Linked DNA regions of Homo sapiens: region 1 is linked to region 2. The links are contacts of gene promoters, found by promoter capture Hi-C in blood cells and fetal thymus (Javierre and others, 2016). All regions are on one chromosome and are shown on one strand. The core of a region is centred on a gene start or on the middle of the fragment in contact, and the rest is flanking DNA. Distances in the headings are between cores, read along the strand shown.

Region 1 (7,441 bases), core at 3,616-6,115, 260 kb before region 2:
GGTCTGAAATCCAAATGAGGCCTGGAGGTGGTCAGTAGGTGGTAAGCCCAAATCAGTGAAACTCAATTGTCCTCCTCTGGAGAATGAGGCAGATCGCACAAGCTGAAATGCAAACATGGAATAAATTACTGGCATTGTAATCATTTCTTGGCTGAAATACAGTACCTTACCCTATCTCACTTTACTCAAACTGATTAATGTGATTTATGTAACCTCAGAAAGAAAGAGAGCTTACTTTTCTGCATAATAAGTCAGCAATCATCTGTAAGTTTTTGTGTATATAGTTGGTCTTCCTACTTTCCTACAAAGTTAATGTGCAAACCTGAAAAGGTTCAGCATCTTGCAAGCACATGGGGAGTGTATATGAGCCAGTTCACTGTAACACTGTGTGCTATCAGAAAGAAGTCAAAAGTTGCTGCGTTAATGGATACGGAAGGTGGGTTGGCTGGGAAGCACTCCTTCACGAGGTTCTGAACTTTCACTTACCTTCCAGTCTTCCGAGCACTTTTTGGTTACTCCCACAGTATCATTCAATCTAACGACACCACTGGTTTTCTTCAAATTTTTCATGCAGCCTCGGAAAGCAGGCGTAGAAATGTTAAATCTGATTACGAACACAGATAAAAGGAAGAGATGGATCATGTCAGGCTCACGTGAAATCAGAGCTGAAACGCTGTGCTCTTTAGTACTTTTCACCCATAAATGAGTAGGTGTTTTATGTTTATCCTTTCCCATGGGATTCCCATAATGCTACTTATTTTATGATGCTGGGAGAACTGACTTCCTTTCTGTGTAAGTTTACATTCCCAGCTTTAAAAATGCAGACAACAATGTTAACAGAAGAATGGCCAGTGGCCGCAAAAGGTAAAGAGACAGAGAACATGCACAATATCTAGAACTGCCCGTCCCTCCCCGCTGGAGTCACGGCATTGCAGGTGGATAGGACATGTATTAATAAGTTAATAGATGATATATGATATACATATATATTAATAAAGTAATAAATCATTTGTAGGAACCAGGAGTGCTCTAGAAAACCTTTTGCTCTTTTTTTTCTGTTCACTGTTAAGTTAGCCACTGTAAAGTCAGAAGAAACAAAGTGTTACTTTTTGGTTCTATTCAATTATGAAAAACGTAGCTTGATTTAACCAATGCCAAGCTGAAACAATGGAACACATTGTCTGGGTTCATATGCTGCTGTATCTACCACCTCCTACCTGTGGGCAAAGGGTTATTGCCAGGATTTAAAAAATTAACGGGCCGGGTGGGGTGGCTCATGCCTGTAATCCCAGCACTTTGGGAGGCCAAGTCAGGTGGATCACTTGAGGTCAGGTGTTCGAGATCAGGCTGGTCAACATTGTGAAAACTTAACTCTACTAAAAATACAAAAATTAGCTGGACGTGGTGGCAGGCACCTGTAGTCCCAGCTACCCGGGAGCTGAGGTTGGAGAATCATCTGAACCCGGGAGGCGGAGGTTGCAGTGAGCTGAGATCGTGCCACTGTACTCCAGCCTGGCAACAAAGCGAGACTCTGCCTCAAAAAACAAAAACAAAACCAAAAAAACAAGTTAACGTACAGCAAGAGCTTGCAGCAGTGCATGGCACCTGGACGTGAATGCTCAGCAGGTGTTTCTGAGAGGCAAAATTGTGCTGCTCTGGACCAGCCAAATTGCCTGGGTTCAAGTTCTGTCCCTTCTGATTGAACAGGCAACTTTTCTCCGTGCCTGTTTCCTCATTTAGACAATGGGAATATGTGAATCTGTTTCATAGGGCTGTCATAGTCTAAGAAAGTTAATATGTGTAACACACTCAAACAGTGTTTTGTACAGAGTAAGGACTCAATGTGAGATCGTCAAGTTAGTAACTACTCCCATATTACTGCTCTTATATAATGAGAGCAATTTCTAAAGCAGCTCTTTCTACATGGCCCCAGGGCATTTCCCCTTCGATTTGACTTCTGGATCTGTCTGGAGCTGAATGCACATAAAGCATTCACACACATGAACTAACTGAAGTCCAGGCAAATATTTGTGTTTCTTAAACAAATGATGTACTAAGAAAACCCAAAGCTGATTTCATTCTAAATCCCTAATGCAGCTTACTTTTCTAAATGGAAAGGTGTCTGCATTCATTTTAATCCAATTCATTAGAAACAGTTGAGCTACCTGTAATAGACCTAAAATTAAATTTCATTAAAAGGAAAAGAAAGAAACAAATCCTCACTGGCATTACAGTATAAGCCTAATTATTTTATAAAGATGGCCTTTTGCCTCAGAAGAGGAGGAGGGTTCATTTCCATTCCTGGAGCTTGCCTATTTATACATGGTTTTAGGTCAATTCTTCTTTGGGTTTCAACATATCTCTTGGACAACGACATTCCAGATGTCCCTCTCTCCATAGATTATTGGTCAAAGAAAGAAGGTTGCAGAAAAGGAAAATAGTAGGAGAGAAAGGCAGTTAACAGATACAGACCACCTATTTTGCACGAAGCTCTATGAATCCAACTTACAATAAGCTTTTGAGGGAGGTATTTTCTCTTTTATATTATTTTATTTTATTTTAAGTTCTAGGATACATGTGCAGGAAGGGCAGGTTTTCTTATCTAACATTTATTGAGCACTGACCATGTGCTGACCTCTGCTAATTCCTTTACACACTCTGAATCTTCCAACCACCCTAAGAGATAGGCAGCTACTATGCCCATACTATAGATGTAGCAATGAGGCATTAAGAGGTTAAGGCCTTGCCTAAGGTCACACAGCTGGTAAGTGGTAGAGCTGGGGTCTGTACTGTCAGTGTGTCACACAGGTTAGTGAGGCTTGAAGCCCTTGCTTTTTACACTTACAGTTGGTATTCCTGCAGCACTTGGAAGTGATCATGCCTTTTTCTAGAAGAGTTACCTACAGCAGAAGTGTTAAAATGGAAGAGATTTACTTCCACTATTCCTGGGGGGATTCTTGTTACCTTGGCTTACCTGAGGACCTACAGTTCTACATTTACTCCAGGATACAGGGTCTGAACATACTTGCTAGAGGAATGTGATTGCACTGGGGCATGAGTTGTTGTGTTGGTGGGTTCCTGCGTTGGGGTATTTATGTATACTTTGGGCCAATCTGTCCACAAAAGCTTAGCCAGCTCCATGGCTGTTGCAGGCCGACTTCAGAGAGCAAAAAGAACAAAAGGCAGCCCTAATCTTGGTGTTGGGTACTTAGTCGATGTTCAATAGATCTACTTTTTGGATCATTTTCATTTTAGTGTGTATAATCACACTCTGTAAACAATGGTGTAGGTCCTCAAGAAAAATGCCCTTGTTGGTGTCACACCCTCTGGCATTACCAGGGATGATTTGCTCTTCTCCTGGGTAGGAGATGGGATTAACAGAATGATTTCTGATTATAATCGGAAACAAGCCATTCCAAGATCTGGGTCCCCATTCCCAGAAGAAACACTACAGTGAGAGGGGGAAGAAACAAAACGTGCACAAAATCCCTTGAGCAAAGCTGATTTAGTGATTACACTTGCTTGCCTTGCTCCAGGTTAGGTTTGAGAACTTTGTCTAAAAGGTCCCTCCATTTATGCCAGGGACCAGAACACCTCCCTGCTCTGGAAGCGTTGGCTGGTTGCCCCTACAGAGCTTGGCTGTGGATTATCCATGGAACTCCTCTGTGCCCACCCCACCTCCCAGTGACTCATGCCCAATGGCAGTTTCAGGAATCTCTGGGCCACCAAAGACTTCACCACAGGGATGAGGCAACACCCAGAACAGCTGACTATTCCTTAGAATTTTGCTTTAGAGGGAGTGAAGGGCCAGTGAAATCTTTTGACTGGCCTCTATCTCCTGCATTTTCCATGTTCCAGTGATTTTAATAAAAAGTCAAAATATAGGCTGTGCATGGTGGCTTATGCCTGTAATCCTAACACTTTGGGAGGCAGAGGCAGGTGGATCACCTGAGGTCAGGAGTTCGAGACCAGCCAGACCAACATGGCAAAACCCCGTCTCTACTAAAAACACAAAATTAGCCGGGCATGGTGGCAGGCACTGTAATCCCAGCTACTCGGGAGGCTGAGGCAGGAGAATTGCTTGAACCCGGGAGGTGGAGGTTGCAGTAAGCCGAGATTATGCCATTGCATTCCAGCCTGGGCAACAAGAGCAACACCTCGTCTCAAAAAAAAAAAAAAAAAAGAAAAAAAAAGGTCAAAGTATAAAACTTGCCCAGAAAAAGGAAGCAGTCCCTTGTTTGGAGGATCCCAAAATAAGTTACTAAGAAAATTCTAGGCCAGGCATGGTGGCTCATGCCTGTAATCACAGCATTTTGGGAGGCCAAGGTGGGTGGACTACCTGAGCTCAGGAGTTCAAGACCAGCCTGGACAACATGGGGAACCCCGTCTCTGCTAAAAATACAAAAAATTAGCCAGGCATGGTGACACATGCCTGTAATCCCAGCTACTCAGGAGGCCAAGGTAGGAGAATCACTTGAGCCCAGGAGGCAGAGGTTGCAATGAGCCAAGATGGCGCCACTGAACTCCAGCCTGGGTGACAGAGCAAGACTCTTGTCTCAAAAAAAGAAAGAAAATTCTGGACTGGGCACAGTGGCTCACGCCTGTAACCCCAGAATTCTGGGGGTGGGAGGATCACTTGAGGCTAGAAGTTCGAGACCAGCCTGGGCAACACAGCAAGACCCCATCTCTACAAAAAATTGTTTTAAAAAAGCAAATTCTCTATGTATATGCATCTCTATATCTATATATTTCTTTAATGGATGGAGATGAAAAGGCAAATAAAGGTTGAGTGCTGAATTAACCTAAAGTTTTGCTGAGCCAAAACTAAAGCCACCTCTTTTGTGGTTCTACCTACTGCTCTTTTCTAGAAAACCTGGACTGACTGGCATCCACATCACTGTCTAGGGGCCTTGTGTTAATATCATGCAAACACAAACCACCACCAATGGGTTCCTTATTGCCTCAACTTGAGAATTCCTCCTGGCTCTGGGTAAGCCCACTGGCCTCTACCACCTCAATGACTACCTGGCCCTGAGCTTCATTTACCCTTCTCCAGACTGGCCTCCTTTCTGGAGGCCCAGGCCATTTTGTGCGCCTGCTTGTGGGCCTCTCCACCTGGCTGTGTCTCAGGCTCCTGGACTAAGCCTGTCTCAGACTTAACTTCTCACCCCACTCCTCCGTTGGTGTGTTCCATCTGCCAAGGGCTTAGCCAAAAACCAGGCATCATTCTTGACTGCTTTTCCCCTTTATTCCCCAACCCAAGCCATTGTGCAGTGCTGCCCATTCACCATCCTAAATATATTTGGAATCTGATCCCTGTTGCTCACCTGCATAACCACTCCTTGGGCCAGGTCACCCTCATCACTCACCTCTGTTAATATACTCGGCCTCCAGCCACTCTACCTGCCTCTGCCCTTTTCTTCTCTAATCCAGTCTCTGCCCTGCACTAGAGTGAGCTACTGAAAACCCAAATTTGGTCATGGCCTTTCTCTGCTGAAGTCCCTCCAATGGCTCCTTACTGTGACTTTCAAGGTACTCTGTGGTCAGGCCCCTGCTGCCCACATCAGCCCCATGGGGCATCCCTATCCCACTTCCTGCTGTACTCTAGCTCTTTGCAAGTTCATGCTTTCTCTATCCAGCTTTGGTGCTTCACATACACTGACTGCTAGCATCTCTCAGGTCCCAGCTGGAGGTCACTTTCCTGATGGCCCCAGTTGGATTAGGTTCCCTCCTGGGCTCTGTCAGCACCCTGAGCTTCCTCCTATGGCACACGTCATGTTCTCCTGTAGTGACTGTCTCTCTTCTGTTCTTCTCCAGGCTCCACCCTGCTCATTGTTGCCTTCTTGGCACCTGTCACTCTGCCTGATGCCCATTAGGCACTCAATAAATCCTGTGTAATGAATGAATAAGTGGCAACTCTCAAACATACTCAAAAGTACTCGAAAAAACTACCTTAAACGATTTTATTTTATTCCATTTCATGGAAATAAAATCAATCTTACTGACAATTCATAACTGGCTATTCATGGCTGAATTGCTATTTGATATTGATAATATTAAATATTAATATAATCTCACTGGCTCTGAATTTCTTCATTTGTAAAACTCAGGGGCTACATACCATGATCTGCAAGGCTCCTTCCAGAGCCCAGGGAGTAAAGATGTCACCCCCAGGTTCTGTTGAAGTGCCCAGCTTTCCCATTTGCATTTTTGCCTTTGGAGGCAACCCTGACAACTTTAAAACAAAGATTAGTACCTGACTACGTAGAATGGACAGACGCCCACATGTATAAGGACTCTAGAAGAAAGAATACCTTGGCATGACACCTTATAAATCATATTCTAGTTCCTTCCAACTGATGTATAAGTTAGCAAAAGAGTTAACTAGCTTCAGATCTCATATAAAAGTCATCATAACCTAACCTTCTGGGAGCACTCTTACTTAGTCATGAGGCTGCACTAATCCTTCCAGGATATGTTCTGTCCACACACTATCGTCAGCTATCTAAAAGCCTTCCGGGAGGATACAAATGATCAAAATGTAAAAGTTATTTTTACGTGCATTCCAAAATGGTGGGATTTTTCCCATTCAGATAAAGCTTTACTGCCTTTCACATTAATTAATTCATGTGTTCACTCATCCAAGAAACAGTTACGTAACAATTCCACGCTCGATAGCATGTAAGGAGCAGCTGATGCCGAAGTGAAGGAGACATACTGTTTCACATTCTTCCAGAGGCTCCCTGAAGGTGGCAACCTCAGCTTTCAGTTCCCCAGGGATGTCTGTCAGGCCTTGGGAGGCCCACGCTCTCCTATGCAGCCTTCAAGGGCCCAGGGCCACAGCCTCTGTTCTACTTGCTGCCAGCATTGTTAACCCAACTATACCCTTCGTGGTCCCTCCCCTCCCGAGAATGACAATGGCGGTGACACACATTCCCCCACCCTCCTTCTTTCCACTGCCCAGTCTCATTATTCGGGATTTAAATCTGTTTTATTCTGTTGACTATACTGTTAATATGGAAAAGTTAACTTTTTGTGTTTGTTTGTTGGTGGAATTAAAAATGGCAGACCAGATTTTTTTTGGTCACAATCATAACCACTAACAAAGGCTTTAAATCTCGTTTTAAAAAAATCATCTTACCTTTCCCTGATTGCAATTGGAATTCCTCCCAGATAATATGTGCTGAAATCAAATACTTCACCATCAATTATAGTGTTTTGAACGTCCACATTTATCCACATACGCTTTTGGAGTTTTCCAATTTTGATCTGAATCTGAAATAAATGAGAGATGAATCAGCAAGCCAGCGAAAATAAGAGAATCCTATTCACAGGGGTTCAGAACTATCATGTTTTTATTTATCTTCCCCCAGATTCATTTATATACATAGTAGGAAGGCTCTGAGCAGTAGCATTTTTGGATAAAAATATGATACTAAAA
Region 2 (6,864 bases), core at 3,683-6,182:
CACTCCAGCCTGGGCAACAAGAGCGAAACTTCATCTCAAAATAAATAAATAAATAAATTACAGATTTTCAGAGAACTGTTAATGCTAGGAGGAAATGCTCACATTATCATGCTTTGTAAAGAGCAGAATATACATATTCCCATTATGTTACTGTATGCTTAAGAAAGATTGTGAGCTGGGCACGGTGGCTCACACCTGTAATCCCAGCACTTTGGGAGGCTGAGGCGGGCAGATCAAGAAGTCAGGAGTTTGAGACCAGCATGGACAACATGGTGAAACCCTGTCTCTACTAAAAGTACAAAAATTAGCCAGGCGTGGTGGCATGAGCCTGAAATCCCAGCAACTCAGGAGACTGAGGCAGGAGAATCTCTTGAACCCAAGGAGGCAGAGGTTGCAGTGAGCTGAAATAATGCCATTTCACTCCAGCCTAGGCAACAAGATCGAAACTTCATCTCAAAGAAAAAAGAAAGAAATAAGAATTCCCCATTGGTCAACACAGGGCCTTAGTGACACCATGGTCTGCTCTGCCACCTTCAGGGGGTAGTTTTCCTTATGGTCACAAGGTGTCTGCAGTCATTCCAGGCATTGTACTTGTACAGTACAGTGTCCCAAGGAATAAGGACCATCTTCTCCTGGGTATGTCTTACAACCAAGGAAATCTTTCTCAAAAGCCCCCAACACACCTCCTCTGACATCTCAAAGATCAGAATTTGTCACCTGCCCACACCTAATTCAAGCACTATCACCAGCCTAAACAAGAGGACTTTGGATGGAACAAAGGGCTATGTTCCCCTTAAGCAAATCTCCAGGGGGAGTATGATGGACAAAACTGAGCAAAACTGACATTCTGATAGGGAAAGGAAGGGAGCAATGGGTGTTGGGTAGATTACTCCAAGCTGTGTCTGCTACAGTCCCCACTGCAAGAAGCCTCATCTAGGGTAAATTCCAATAGGTTAGGAGAGACGGAGCTAACTAGCTGGGAGATGTGAGGTGGAAGCTGGGCATAGTGGCATGCACCTGTAATCCCAGCACTTTGGGAAGCTGACAGGGAGGATCACTTGAGCCTATGACTTAATGACCAGCTTGGGCAATATAGTGATGCCCCATCTCTAAAAAATAAAATTAAATAAAAATTAAAAATTAAACAAGGGCTGGGCATGGTGGCTCATGCCTGTAATCCCAGCACTTTGGGAGGCTGAGGTGGGAGGATGGCTTGAGGCCAGGAGTTCAAGACCAGCTTGAACAACATAGCGAGATCCTATCTGTAAAAAAATGTTTTTAAAAATTAGACGGTATAGTGGCATGTGCCTGTAGTCCTAGCTACTCAGAAGGCAGAGGCATTAGGATTGCTTGAGCCCAGGAATTCCAGGCTGCAGTGAGCTGTGATCCTGCCACTGCACTCCAGCCTGGGTGACAGAGACCCTATCCTTATAAAAAATAAATAGATACAAAAATTTTAAAAGATGTGGGATGGGGAAGTAGACAGAGAATAAAGACAGAAAAGATGTCCAGCATGAACTCTTAGTTGGATGAAGGAGCCTGATTACAAAAAGGGTGTTAGAAAGCTCAGTAGGCTGGGCGCAGTGGCTCATGCCTGTAATCCCAGCACTTTGGGAGGCAGAGGCTGGCAGATCACGAGGTCAAGAGTTTGAGACCAGCCTGGCCAACATGGTGAAACCCCGTCTCTACTAAGAATACAAAAATTAGCCGGGTTTGGTGGCCTGTGCCTGTAATCCCTGCTACTCAGGAGGCTGAGGCAGGTGAATCGCTTGAACCCGGGAGGTGGAGGTTGCAGTGAGCCAAGATCATGCCACTGCACTCCAGCCTGGGTAACAGACCAAGACTCCGTCTTGAAAAAAAGAAAGAAAGAAAAAAGAAAAAAAAAAGAAAGCTCAGTAGACCAGATTGACCTACTTCTCAATTCTGTCGAGGGCAAATCCTGTTGGACCATCAACTGGGACAGTGCAAAATAGAGGCCAAACACATCAAGGTCTGTGCTGGTGTGAACAGAAGGTGACAATGACTATGGACTCATTTGAGATCAACACAGATGTCTGTGCATCTGAGTAATGCATGTCTGTGGATAAGAGTGGGCCTTCTGACTTGGTAGATTTGGATAACACAACCCCCTGACTCTTTTACTAATTCAATGATGAATAAGTTTTGACCATCTACCATGCCTCCAGCCGTAAATTAGCCCCTGGGGAAAATAAAAGATACATAAGACACAGGGCCTGGCCTTGAAGAATTTCAACTCTGCTGAAGAAATCAAAAGCAACAGAAGTAGAACTGAGAGCAATACCAGACCCTGTGGAATCAGGGTTGAGGGATGTGGTGTAGAGCAGAACCATGGCAAGAGCTCAGCAAAGTTGGGAGGAAGATGACTGAGAACCAGGGTGTAGGAAGAGGAACTTGAGCTGGGGGTAACACCCTGGGTAGGTTGGGATTTGGCAGACAAAAGAGAGGAGATGAAAGAGAGCCGTAGTGGGAAGAGAGCAGTGATAAGATTTTGGAGCTAGACAAACGCCTAGCTCTATCACTTATTAGCAAATTATTCCATTTTCTCAGAATTTTACTTTTTTCATCTATGGAATAGGTATAATACCTACCTCATAAAATGTTTATAAGGAAAGCACCTTGTACCTAGAAAACACTCAAAATATTAGTTTTTTCCTTTATCCCTTTTGTTTGACAGGATGACAAGGATGGAGAGGCTCTGTTTGGGTAGTGAGAAGATGTTTGGATAAGAAAACTGGGCCGTGCAGATTAAATCTTGTATTAGGTCCAGTGGGTCACTATTAAAGTTTGGAGTGGACCATTTTAGAAAGAATTGCCTGTTGTGACCATGAGAGCTTTGTTCCATTTCAGAGCTGTTTATATGAAGATGAGTTTAACCGCGTGTGTCAGACGGTGTTAGGCACGTTCTTTCCAGAGACTGACAAGAATCCCATCAGCACCCTGGCCAGAGAAAAGCAGCTTTGAGCTCAAGTGTAACGGAAAGGAAACAGGCTTTGGAGCTAGACAAACACCTAGCCCTATCACTTATTAGCAAATTACTCCAATCTCTCAGAATCTTAGTTTTTTCATCCGTGGAATGGGTTAATACTCACCCCATAAAATGTTTATAAGGAAAGCACCTTGTACCTAGAAAACACTCAAAATATTAGTTCTTTCCTTTCTCCCTTTTATTTATCAAAACTATTAAAGCAGACCAGGCGCGGTGGCTCACGTTTGTAATCCTAGCACCTTGGGAGGCCGAACCAGGTGGATCACCTGAGGTCAGTAGTTCGAGACCAGCCTGGCCAACATGGCGAAACCCTGTCTCTACTAAAAATACAAAAATTAGCTGGGCACGGTGACAGGAGCCTATAATACCAGCTACTCGAGAGGCTGAGGCAGGAGAATTGCTTGAACCCGGGGGGTGGAGGTTGCAGTGAGCCAGGATCATGCCACTTCACTTCAGCCTGGGCAAAAGAGCGAAACTCCATCTGAGAAGAAAAAACAAACAAACAAACAAAAAACTATTAAAGCAAAACCTCTGATGCTTGATTTTTATATAATAACGTTGTGTGGCAACTTAAAAACTGTGTCATTTATAGGCACTCAAGGCAAGGAAAATGTTTAGAGTCCTTATTTTTAAAATTGGAATTTTCTATAAAAGTTCAGAATGTTTTTAATTTAAAGTTGTTTTAAGCACAAAGTAATACAATTTATCCATGAAGGTTAAACATTTTAATTTTTATCATTAACTTTTATTTGTAATTGTTTTCTACCTTTTAAATTAAATATTCGTTACAAATTTAATTGAGAAGAGGGAAGGAGGGGGAGAATGAATGAGTGGATTCTTATAGTTTGAGGGGGTAAGACCTCCATTTTTATACTATTTTTTTGTTTTGTTTTTATTTTTATTTTTGAGGCAGAGTCTTGCTCTGTTGCCCAGGCTGGAGTGCAGTGACCGAATCTTGGCTCACTGCAGCCTCAACCTCCCAGGTTCAAGCGATCCTCCCACCTCAGCCTCCCGAGTAGCTGGGACTACAGGTGCGCACCACCACGCCTGGCTAATTTTTGTATTTTTAGTAGAGATAGAGTTTTGCCATGTTGGCCAGTCTGATCTCGAACTCCTGGACTCAAGTGATCTGCCCGCCTTTGGCCTCCCAAAGAGTTGGGATTATAGGCGTGAGCCACTATGCCTGGGCTACTTTTTTACTTTCACTTTTCTAAAATGCTCTCAAAGAGCTGTTGTTGCCGTTTATACTTAAAACTCCCAGTTTTACTTCGCCCAAACCAATCCTGGGCAGGCAGCAGGAGTGGACACACATACTGCAATACTCCAGGGCTGCAGCATCAGACCCAGAGGAGGAGGGAACTGCTGGATTAATAACGCGGAGGAGGAGGAGGGGTATGAGTCTATTCCAAAATTGGCCTTTGCCCTTCAAAGAGGAAAAGACCACTTATTGTTTGTGCAATCAAAAGGTTTGTTTCCTAGATATTTTCCCCAGGAGAAAAAAGTTTCCCAGGAAACCGAGAAAGAAATTATAACGAAAATAGCTATTGGATGAATTTTTTCCTCAAGCTTCATTTTTACATCATTATAATATTTGTGCTGTAATGAAGGTTGGGAGTCCTCTGGGGCAGACCAGTCTATTTGGGAGGATATGTATGGAGTTTGTGTGTGAGTACATGCGGGTGAGTGGGCGTGAGTGTGGAAAGTATGTGTGTGGAACCTCTGTGTGTGTGGAATGTGGAGCGTATGCACAATGTGTGTGGAGTTTGGAGTGTGTGTGTGGACGAGTGAGTGTGGAAGTGTGGACGTGTGTGGAAAGTGCACAGTGCGTGCGGAGTTTGGGGTGTTTGTGCACGCGCGTGTGTGGCAGGTCCTGGAGCGCGTCCACGCGACACCCCATGTGTAGTGTGCGCGCGCGCGCGCCCCCGCGCCGCCCCTTCGGCCCGGCCCTGTGTGCGGCGGCTGCTGCCGGGCCGGGCGGCGGGAGCGCGCGGCGTCGGAGGCCGCCCCTCTGCGGAACGCCGAGAGCCCCGGGAGAGTGAAGGGCCGGGGAGGACAAGGCGCCCCGGGCCCAAAGCGCGCCGGCTCCCGCTCGGGCGGCCGCGGACATGTGCAGGATGTCCTTCAAGGTGAGCGACCGGGACTCCGGGGTCAGGGCTGGGGCCGGGCTCGGGCGGCCGGGCCCGCGGGGTCGGGTGGGGTGGGATGGGGTGGGATGGGGTGGGCGCTGCCCGCTGCCCGCCGCCTCCTCCTTCCTCTCTCCTCCAGCTGCGGGCGAGGCCCGGGAGGAAGCGGCGGGGCTGGGTGCGCCCTGTGGGTTTGCGGTTTGCCTGCCTGCCCTGCCTGAGAGGCTTCGCACTCATGGCTGTGGATCGGCTGAGTCTGTGCCCGGCGACGGGGCGGCGGGGACTGTCGCCGGGTAACAGGTCGGGGGCGGGTAAGAAGCCTGGGGTCAGCGCTGTCCTGCAGCAGAAGGAGTCCCCGACCCTGACCCTCTGGGTCCTCATGCAGGAGTACCAGCTGCACCCACGGATGCCTCCTCCCCGGAGGGGTGGCCAGCACCCAGGGAGGCTTCAGGGTCCAAAGGTGTCTTGTCTCAAAAGAGTTGATTAAAGTCATTCCATCTAATCCCCACATTTTAGGATGAAAGAGGTTGATTTGCCTCGATTGAAAGGGTTTAATAAAAATAGCAGTTAAAATGTATTAAACAGTTCAAATGTGCCTGACTCTGAACCAAGGACATGGTGTGTATGGTCTCAACCCTGGGGGAGACCTGTGGGAGGTGCTCTTCGTGGCTCTTTTTTTTTTTTTTTTCAAATGAGAAAACTAAGATATAGAGAAATTAACTCACCCACGGTTTTGCAGCCAATAAGTTATGGTGTTAAGACTGAAACCCAAGTGTGTCTGACTCCTAAGCCACTGTAATCCCGTTGCCGACAATAGCTCATGTAAGCAGAGGAGTGACATGGCGAGATGTGCATGTTGCAAAGATCTCTGGCTAGGTTTGGAGAAGAGGGTTGGAGCTGGAAGATGTTGTCATCTTTTTAAGAAATGGTACTGGACCAGTGCATAGGTGGTGAGAATGGAACGAAGCAGACGAATGTGAATGACTTTAAAGTTTTTTTTCCTGAGACGGAGTTTTGCTCTTGTTGCCCAGGCTGGAGTGCAATGGTGTGATCTCAGCTCACTGCAACTTCCGCCTCCCGGGTTCAAGCTATTTCTCCTTCCTTACCCTCCAGAGTAGCTGGGATTACAGGCGTGCGCCACCATGCCCAGCTAATTTTTTCGTATTTTTAGTAGAGACGGGGTTCTGCCATGTTGGCGAGGCTGGTCTCGAACTCCTGACCTCAGGTGATCCACCCTCCTTGGCCTCCCAAAGTGCTGGGGTTAAAGGCGTGAGCCACTACGCCCGGCCGACTTTAAAAGTTTTAAATCGGCATAATTCAGTAGGGAAGGCAAGAGAGATAAAGATAAAACGTTTGGTTTGGGATAAATTTTGAGGATAGATGGGAATCCAAGCAGAGATGTTGATTAGACAGATATACTCTCCTCGATCCCAGGAGGCAAGTCTGGGCAGCAGCTAGAGATGAGATTTAGGAGTCAGCAGTGTTAAGTAGGCACCCATGGGAATGAACATGATTGCCCAGTGGAACCATATAAAGGTGGAAAATAAGAGGACTGAGGACAAAATCTTGAAGAAGATTTGAGAAAGAGCAGCCAGAGACGAATGAGAAAACTCAGAAGCATGTGCTGTCACTTACACCAAGCATCTCTAATCTTTCAACAAAGATGAAGAGGACCTTGATGTTTATTAATGCCACAGGGAAATCAAATAAACAAAGAATTGAAAAGTCCATTGG

The links. Contacts are between HindIII fragments. The CHiCAGO score rates a contact against its expected background, and 5 or more counts as called.
Region 1: a contact is called between a fragment that was not itself captured here and the fragment with the promoter of ANKRD29 in region 2, in 3 of 17 cell types (M0 macrophages, M1 macrophages and total CD8 T cells). The highest score is 7.6, in M0 macrophages.

What each region holds. Positions count from the first base shown.
Region 1 is chr18:23,921,286-23,928,726 of GRCh38, reverse strand. LAMA3 (laminin subunit alpha 3) reads right to left here. Exons shown (of 75, transcript NM_198129.4): 62 at 7,142-7,275; 63 at 487-604; 64 at 1-102. Among named protein-coding and RNA genes, the nearest start is that of LINC02958, 58 kb to the left of the region's middle. The HindIII fragment of the contact is 3,473 bases long and covers 3,129-6,601 here.
Region 2 is chr18:23,660,979-23,667,842 of GRCh38, reverse strand. ANKRD29 (ankyrin repeat domain 29) reads left to right here and starts at 4,932. Exons shown (of 10, transcript NM_173505.4): 1 at 4,932-5,133. The coding sequence starts at 5,113. The HindIII fragment of the contact is 8,557 bases long and covers 4,576-6,864 here.